Regions from separate parts of the Homo sapiens genome. Here regions 1 and 3 are each linked to region 2. Evidence: promoter capture Hi-C in 16 types of primary human blood cells and fetal thymus (Javierre and others, 2016). All regions are on one chromosome and are shown on one strand. Each heading gives the region's core, a stretch centred on a gene start or on the middle of the fragment in contact. The rest is flanking DNA. Distances are from core to core; before and after follow the strand shown. Region 1 overlaps PIM1 (Pim-1 proto-oncogene, serine/threonine kinase). Region 2 holds the start of SRSF3 (serine and arginine rich splicing factor 3). Region 3 has its middle 38 kb from the start of PIM1.

Region 1 (3,038 bases), core at 337-2,836, 580 kb before region 2:
CAAACTCCTGGGCTCAAGTGATCATCCCTCCTTGTCTTCCCAAAGTGCTGGGATTATGGGTGTGAACTACCACACCCTACCCCACCCTGTACTTCTTTGTACTTTTGCTACATGTGTATGCATCCGTAAGCGGGAGATAGTAGTTTTTCTGTATGTAAGTATATCTGTTATTTAACCCAGTCTCCTAATAATCCAATCCAGGAGTATCTCTGTTTAGAGATTAGTTTTAGAGGGTGTAATAACTTGCCCAAGGTTTCTAGATAAGTAAGCTCAAGGCTGATTCCCAAGTCAATGCTTTTAACCATTGCTCTCTATATTCCTCTGGCCATGACATTGATCCCCCGCAGACTTATTGGTTATCTGATTCCCTTTCCACGCTAGATGTCAAACTGCCCCTGAGAAGAGATTAAATATGACCTTTCACCCTCCCCCTAAAACTCTTAATCTCTTGCATCCAACAGGAGCACGATCTGTCTTTATTCAGAGATACTTTCTTCTATTCCCCCGCAGCAGTCTCATTAGATGGGGAAACTGCCAGAAACTCACTTCGAGAAAGAGAAGGGTGGGGCTTTGCCTGATTTCGTTAATAGTTTGCGGCAACTTTTAATTATCCAAGTGTCAGCTTTACTGGAAAGGACGAAGCATGCAACCCTCAGGCTCCAAGATGTTGGTAGTGTGTGTATGTTGTGTGGGGGATGGGAGAGATTAGAGAAAAGGGGAACCTCAGAAAATCAGCCCCCCAGAACCAAGACATCCTTCCTTCCTCTTTATAGCCACATGGGGGCTGAGCTGAGGTATGGGATCTAGTCTAAGCTTAAGGGTAGACATACACCAGAACCCAATGAGGAGTGAGGGGTATTATAGTCTGCACCCTCCAGCAACCTCGAGGGTGCATATGGGCCAGTGTCCAAAGGGTGTGTGGATGCATTGAGGGTTGGGAGCATGATGACCCCCAGGGAGGGAGTATTATAACTGTGGATATTTATAAAGAAACAAGAAACCAACATTTACCAATACTTAATATATGAATTGACAATGGCACTCCAGTGTGCTTTCAAAATATCAGGATGTATTCAGGCCACACGTACAAAGTGGATTCATGGGTCTTGCCATCCAGTTTAACTAAACTCACACAAAATGGACAAAGGGCCTATTAAACAGATCCCTGCAAAGAAACCATGGACTAAAAATACTAATTATTCAAGAATAAGCAGTAAGAAAATGGCAGAGCTAACATTTCACCTACTCCCAATATTAGCCCTTTGTCAAACACATCAGAGGGGGAAACCTTAAGTCAAACTCACATTTCTACCCATCCACTATTGTGTGTGTGTGTGTGTGTGTGTGTGTGTGTGTTTTAAGTGGGGTTACCTGTTGCCCAGGCTGGAGTGCAATAGCGTGATCATAACTCACTGCAACCTTGGAGCTCCTGGGTTCAAGCGATCCTCCTGCCTCAGCCTCCTGCATAGGTAGGACTACAGGTGTATGCCACCACGCTCAGCTAATTTTCACTTATTTTTTGTAGACTGGGTCTTATCTGGTCACGACTTTAGTGTCACCACACTGTTCTATTATTTTTTCTATGCTGCATAATAAATTATACTATTGTTAAAGACTAGGCCAGGCGCGGTGGCCCACGCCTGTAATCCCAGCACTTTGGGAGGCCAAGGCAGGCAGATCACTTGAAGTCAGGAGTTCCAAACCAGCCTGGCCAACATGGCGAAACCCCGTATCTACTAATACAAAATTAGCTGGCCTGGTGGCACATGCCTGTAATCCCAACTTCTCGGGAGGCTGAGACAGGATAATCACTTAAAACCCGGGAGGCGGAGCTTGCGATGAGCCTAGATTGCACCACTGCACCCCAGCCTGGGCAACAGAGCGACACTCCATCTCAAAAAAAAAAAAAAAAAGGCTGCGGAGCACGATGGCTCACACCTGTAATCCTAGCACTTTGGGTGGCTGAAGCAGGCGGATCATAAGGTCAAGGAGCTCGAGACCAGCCTGGCCAACATGGTAAAACCCTGTCTCTACTAAAATACAAAAATTAGCTGGGCGTGGCAGCGGGCGCCTGTAATCCCAGCTACTCAGGAGGCTGAGGTAGAACTGCTTGAACCCGGGAAGTGAAAGTTGCAGTGAGCCGAGATCGTGCCACTGGCAGTGGCACGCCAGCTGGTCCAGCCTGGTTGACAGAGACTCAGTCTCGAAAAGAAACTAAACCTCACACTAAAGGTGAAGGAAACTTGAATCAGGAACCGAGAGTAATAGAGGCAATAGTTTTTCAATAAACTTCACGTGTACCAAGGGGACATGCTCAAAATGTTTTACTATCAGTGGCAGACAACTGATAAAAGCTTCAAGGGTTAGTTTGGTAATAGGTATGTATTTGTTATCTCTAGATCAGCCCCATCCAATAGAACTTTCTGCAATGATGTTTTATATGAGGTGGCCACTAGCCATAAATGGCTATTGAACACTTGAAAATTGTCACATCTATCCTATTTGCATAGCTTTAAAATTGTAATCTGGAAAAGGTTATTTTATTAGGCCTCCCATGCCAGATATTGCCCAAATTTTGACAATACTGGTCCTACCCCTTGACCATACATTCGTTTCAGGAAGATGACTATCCTAGAAATCCCAATGTTGAAGGAAGCCAGATTTAGGCTGAGAATTCCTTTCTCCTACAATTCTTTGGCACTTACCAAATGCTCAATAAATGCAGGTTAGCAATGCCTCCGCACAGACGATTAGAAGCCACGAGTTAAGACAAAAGGTTTTTATTCAAAAAACGCCAAGTATAAAAAAAAAAATAAGATCTCTTTTATTCCCCTGTACAGTATTTCACTCAGATAAAACCAGCAGGCTACCTGCTGCTCAAAACACAGCCCCAGAGAGGATCTGGAAGGCACACCATCCAGAACTGCTTTTCATAATTATCCTATATACACAGTCAGCAATGCCCCTCCCCATCACCCACAGAGCCGGGACCCACCTGGGTAAGTAGGTGAGGGGCCCCACAGAAGCCAGGGAGCTGC
Region 2 (3,010 bases), core at 134-2,633:
GTTAACCCAAATGTCCATCAACAGAAACGGATAAGCAAAATGTGGTATAGACATAAAATGAGTATTATTCAGAATGATGTACTGACAAATCCTCCAACGTTGGAAAATCTTGAAAACATTACGCTAAGTTAAAGAAGCCAGACATAAAAGTACACGATTCCATAAATACTAAATATCTAAAATAGCTAAGTTCAGAGAGACAGGAAGATTAGTGGTTGCTAGGGACTAGAGGAAGGGGGACAGGGAATCTGGGAGTAAGTGCTCAATGGGTAGTAGTCTCCTGCGGGGGGAGGTGACGGAAATGTTTTGGAACTACGTGTAAGTGATGATTACACAACACTGAATATACTAAATACCACTTAAAGATAATTTCACTTTAATAAAAAATTACAAAGAGATATTTGCTACTAAAAAATTTACTGCACTTTGGGGACTTATTTTTTTGTTCTTCCTTGGCGGACTTGTATTTGATAAAGCTTTATTACTGAGTCACTTCGACGATGAATCTGATAAACTTGTAGACCAGTTTCAATTACATAAAAACCATCTACTCAATAATTCAGCTGAAGTGCTTTCCATAAACACCACGTTCTTCTTACTCTGGGCTTGTCTAATTAAAATATCCAGTCCAGACACATCCTATTTGCCGTGACCACACCCTGTGCCCAGGAGTAAGTTCTAAGACCAAACCACTGGTGAAAATTTTTAAAAACACTGCTGGCACCTGTCTTAAGCCTCCATTTTAATGGGAAGCGATGAAAGAACGAATCTTAAGTTCAAGGAAGATCTTTCGGTCTTAGAAAAAGGTGATTAGATTCAGGCTGCAAAATCTGAAACTACATGAAAGTAAGGTGACTACGGGGGCCATTTAATATGAACTGAAAGGTCCGGTCTTGGTTAGTGACTTTACAAAAACATTCTGAGAAGCTTCCCAATTAAATGAGGGGCCAAAAAAAAAAAAGGCGCCATAAAAATAAAAAGGCCGTGACCTGGAATACAACTCGGCTATCGGCTCCCCTTTGTGGTTCCCAACTCCCAGGTAACCCCCATCCTGGCTCATGCCCCAATGAGGAATATAAAGACTTCCACTCCAAGACTAGGAAACCCTCCGATGGGCCGGGAGCCCCCGCCACCGCCCCGTGCTGAACGTCACAAAATGGCGGCGGCGCCTCTTTGTCTCAATCTGGCGCCGCCATTGGGCCTGGCTCCTTGGTACTGTTAAATTCCATTTCCACCTCATTCCCTCTTTCGCTGGTCTCTTACCGAGATCTAGGGTTAAAAAATGCGGCGGCTCAAATCCACACGCTCCGATGAGTCTTCCCGCTTTCCTCCGGCCCAACACCAACCAACTCTCTCACTCACCCGGCGTCCACGAAATGGCGGACCACCGCCTTCTCCTCGCCTTTATTTATACGCCATACTGGAATCACATGATTGGACGGGCTCCCCCAATGAGAAGCAGAAGAGGCCGTGACGTATGGCTACAAACGCAGCGAGAGCCGCGGTTGCTGGGAGCGCGCTCTGGCGGTTGCGCCGGGTGGGTGGAGACGTGCGTCGGCGCGCGCTCGTTGTAACAGGCCTGGTGCTCCCTCGAGCGTTCCTCCCGGTCTGTCGACCTCCAGGTTACCCACAGACTCCTCTTCCTCACCTCCAAATAGGCTAGGGCTTCATAAACAGCACCGTCGCCGTCACGCTCAAACACTAATAGGAGCCGTTGGCCCCTAACAAGATTAAGAGATGAATTAATTAAGTGCTTCACCCTTGTGAGCGGTTAGTCTGGAACTAAGAGCATCGCGTTTACAAACAGGTCACGGAGCTGTTTGTGACCCAGCTGGCACCAGACTGTGGCCGCCTAGATTCCACACTGAAGGAAAAGCCTGGTTTGGAAAGTTTGCCCAACTCTTGCTGGTTTCTCGTCTCTCAAGCAAACTTGCAGGACTTGGCGCCGACAGCAAAGGAGACCGGTCAGGTGACCTGGAAACTATCACCTTTAGCAAACACCCGGAAAGGGAAGTTTCTGAAGAAGATTGAATGTAAATTCTGGCCCCCAAGCAAATGCCAGGAGGGGTATCTCGAGCCTTTCTCCTAGCAGCCGTTGCACTGCCTGGCATGTATTTTGTCCGGGCCACTTCCCTTACGAAGACAGAGCCGCAAGAGTAATTAAGGGGAGAGAGACTGTGATTGGGTTAGAAAAATCACCAAGGGCCGGGCGCGGTGGCTCATGCCTGTAATCCCAGCACTTTGGGAGGCCGAGGCAGGCGGATCACTTGAGGTCAGGAGTTCAAGACCAGCCTGGCCAACATGGTGAAATCCCGTCTCTATTAAAAATACAAATGGCCGGGCATGGTGGCAGGCGCCTGTAATCCCAGCTACTTGGGAGGCTGAGAGCAGGAGAATCGCTTGAACCCAGGAGGCGGAGGTTGCCGTGAGCTGAGATCCTACCACTGCACAAAAAAAAAAAGAGAGAAAAAGAACCTGTCTTTTTATTTATTCCCTCTTAGCTGAAAGATATGCCAATTATTATGTTTTTTTTTTTCTTTTTTCTTTTTTTTTTTTTCTTGAGATGGAGTCTCGTTCTGTTGCCCAGGCTGGAGTGCAATGGCGCGACCTCGGCTCACTGCAAACTCCGCCTCCCGGGTTCAAGCGATTCGCCTACCTCAGCTTCCCGAGTAGCTGGGATTACAGGCACCTGCCACCACACCCGGCTAATTTTTGTATTTTTAATAGAGACGGGGTTTCACCATGCTGGTCAGGCTGGTCTCGAACTCGCCACCTCAGGCGATTCTCCCGCCTCGGCCTCCCAAAGTGCTGGTATTACAGGCGTGAGCCACAGCACCCGGCCAGCCAATTAATATGTTTTAACTTTCCCAGGTATTTTTCTTTTGAAGCCTTACCTCTTATTGTGGTTCTAAAAGGTTTATCTGTAGTGGAGGAAAAAAATACAGATTTATTACATCTCAGCCTAGTTTCCTCACCTGTAAAAGGGGAGAAGGGGATCCTAGCAAACCTT
Region 3 (3,073 bases), core at 340-2,839, 610 kb before region 2:
AGTCCTTGGTCTTGTTCTCTGTCTCACTCACTCCCAGCTCACCTGGTCCAGACCCATCACTAATAAGCCCCATATACATCTTCAGCCTGGACTTCTCCCCTAAACCCTGGCTTTGTTTATGCAGTTGCTTCCTTGATGTGGTAGCCAGCTCTAACATGGTTCCCAGAGATCTCTGCGAACTGATATTCACATTCATCACCTCTTCTTAGATGTGGGCAGGACCCAGTGATCCTCTTCTAGCAAAGAGAACATAGCAAAAGCGATGGGTTGTCCTTTCTAAGGTTAGGTTACAGAAGACGATGACGTCAGTGCTGCCCGCTCTCTGAGGGAAGCTGGCTATCATGTTGAAAGTATCTTTATGGAAAGGCTCACACTGCCAGGAGCAGAGGTCACTAACCAAGAGCCCGTGAGGAACGGAATCCTACCAACAGCCCCATGAGGGAGCTTGGAAGCAGATCCTCCCCTACACAACTCTTTTTTTTTTTTTTAAATACAATATGGGGTCTCCCTATGTTGCCCAGGCTGGTCTTGAACTCCTGGCCTCAGGCTATCCTCCCACCTTGGCTTCCCAGAGTGCTGAGATTATAGGCATGAGCCACCATACCCAGTCAGGATATGTTTTGGGGTGGTTACTGTTGTAGAGACATTTTTGTAGAGATGTGACATGTACTAGTTATCTATTACTGCATAACAAATTACCCCAAAATTAGCAGCTTAAGACAGTACATTTATTCTGTCTTAGTTTCTGCGGTCAGGAGTCCAGACACAGCTCACCTGGTTCTCTGACTCAGATTCTCTCAGGGTCTCACTCAGGATGTCTCTACTTTTATTTGATTTTTAGAGACAGGGTTGCACTCTGTCACCCAGGCTGGAATGCAGTCGTGCAATCATAGCTCACTGGAGCCTTGAACTTCCAGGCTCAAGCGATCCTCCCACCTCAGCCTCCTGAGTAGCTGGGAATACAGGTGTGCCACCGCATCCAACTGATGTAAAAAAATTTTTTTTTTTAATTTTCTTAAAATGTGGGAATGTAGCCGGGCATGGTAGCTCACGCCTGTAATGACAGCACTTTGGGAGGCTGAGGCGGGTGGATCACCTGAGGTCAGGAGTTCAAGACCAGTCTGGCCAACATGGTGAAACCTCCTCTCTACTAAAAATACAAAAATTAACCGGGCATGGTAGCAGGTGCCTGTAATCCCAGTTACTCAGGAGGCTGAGGCAGGAGAATTGCTTGAACCTGGGAGGTGGAGGTTGCAGTGAGCTGAGATCGCGCCACTATACTGCAGCCTGGGCAACAAGAGCAAAACTCCATCTCAAATAAATAAATAAATAAATAAATAAATAAATAAAAATTGGGGAGTGTATCCCAATCCACACTCCTGATTTTCTCCCGTATACCTTGCCCTAACCCCCAGTCTTTGCCACCTCTACCCTTCCATTGCTCAAGTTAAAGACCCAGCAGGCATCCTTAGGTCCTCTCTTTCTCTCAGCCTGAATCTAACTCCTCACCACTCCCCATCAGCCCACCCTTCAATATAGATCCATATCCAACCACTTCATATAACCTCCCCTGCCACCTCCCTGGCCCAGGCCATCACCATCTCTTGCCCAGGCTATTGCAGTAGCAGTTCCTGACTGGCCTCCCCATGCCACTGTGTTCCCTTTACAGTCAGTTCTCCGCCCAGCCACCAGAGGGCTCCTGTTGAAACCTGAGTCAGATCAAGTCCCTCCTCTACTCCGGTCCTCACCTGCCAGGGCTCCCCACCACACTCAGGGTAGAAATCCCAAGTCTTTACCACGGCATGCCAGCTGCTAAATAACCCAGTCCCTTGTCACCCTCTGATCTGCTTTCTAACCATTTTGTTCTCTCCGCCTCCCTCTGCTGCAGCCATGCTGTCTTCCTTTCGTTCACCCTAACACAGACAGCACACTCCAGCCTCGGGGCCTTTGCACTCACTGTGCCTTCCGCCTAGAATATTCTTACTCCAGCTATTCACCAGCTTCCTTTCTTGCTCAGAAGGCATCAGAGAGGCCTTCCCTACCAATGGGTGTGAAACAGCCCCTCCCTACCATCCCATGTGTCTCTTTCCCACTTACTGTGCTACATTTCTTCATAACATGTACTATCACCTGACTTACTCTATACAGTTGCCTCTCCCACCACCCTCCAAAAATGTGGGCACCATATTTACTTCACTGATGTTTTCCCAGCACCTAGTTCAATGCCCAGCATGTAGCAGGTGCTTGATAAAGATTTGTGGAATGAATGGACATAGACTCTCAGTTTTGTTTTTGTTTTGGAGACAGAGTCTCTGTCGCCCAGGCTGAAGTGCAGTGGCACCATTGTGGCTTAGTGCAACCTCCGCCTCCTGAGTTCAAGCGATTCTCCTACCTCATCCACCTGAGTAGCTGGGACTACAGGTGCCCACCACCACTCTGGGCTAATTTTTGTATTTTTAGTAGAGATGGGGTTTCACCAAGTTGGCCAGGCTGGTCTTGAACTCCTGACCTCAGGTGATCTGCCCAAAGTGTTGAGATTACAGGCATGAGTCGCCACGCCCGGCCTATGAGAGGCAAATTATTACTGTTCTTTCAGCCTCCTGTTCCTACTCCTTTCTTCTCTCATTCAATTCTGCAGTCTCTGGTGAAGAATCTAGACACAGGTAGGAAAATACCGACAAAGGATACGATTTCAGCCCCTTATTCCTTTCCTCCTTTCCCAGTCCTGTTCCCTTACACCAACTGCTGCCACTAGAATCACCACCTCATCTCCCAGCTCCATCTCACCAAGTGGAAAACAAGTCTTTCTAACAGTGCAGGTGTCCCCGGGAAGAGCAACACTCTTAAGGGCTGTCACCCACCCCTGACACTTTCAGTCCGTGAAGATCCCCCAGCCTTCCGTCCTACTTTTCTTCATACAGTTTATTACTGTGTTGCAGACCGTGAATTAGGAATTGAGGAATACCTGGGGAAGCAAGACACAGCCCACATTCCAAGGGGCTCCCAGCCTAGCGAGGGGCCAAGCCACTTAGGCTATCTGGACCCAGGACGATAGGTGCTAGAGGAAGCACTG

Evidence for each region. Contacts are between HindIII fragments. The CHiCAGO score rates a contact against its expected background, and 5 or more counts as called.
Region 1: a contact is called between a fragment that was not itself captured here and the fragment with the promoter of SRSF3 in region 2, in 1 of 17 cell types (naive B cells). The highest score is 8.0, in naive B cells.
Region 3: a fragment that was not itself captured here is called in contact with the fragment with the promoter of SRSF3 in region 2 in 1 of 17 cell types (total B cells); the score reaches 6.4 in total B cells.

Annotation. Positions count from the first base shown.
Region 1 is chr6:37,175,155-37,178,192 of GRCh38, reverse strand. PIM1 (Pim-1 proto-oncogene, serine/threonine kinase) reads right to left here. Exons shown (of 6, transcript NM_002648.4): 6 at 2,765-3,038. Among named protein-coding and RNA genes, the nearest start is that of PIM1, 6.5 kb to the right of the region's middle. The HindIII fragment of the contact is 1,541 bases long and covers 816-2,356 here.
Region 2 is chr6:36,592,735-36,595,744 of GRCh38, reverse strand. It overlaps SRSF3 (serine and arginine rich splicing factor 3), which reads right to left and starts at 1,383. Exons shown (of 6, transcript NM_003017.5): 1 at 1,264-1,383. RefSeq lists enhancers at 1,096-1,325, 926-1,607, 1,716-1,875. The HindIII fragment of the contact is 2,162 bases long and covers 930-3,010 here.
Region 3 is chr6:37,206,818-37,209,890 of GRCh38, reverse strand. No RefSeq gene overlaps it. Among named protein-coding and RNA genes, the nearest start is that of PIM1, 38 kb to the right of the region's middle. The HindIII fragment of the contact is 4,608 bases long and covers 1-3,073 here.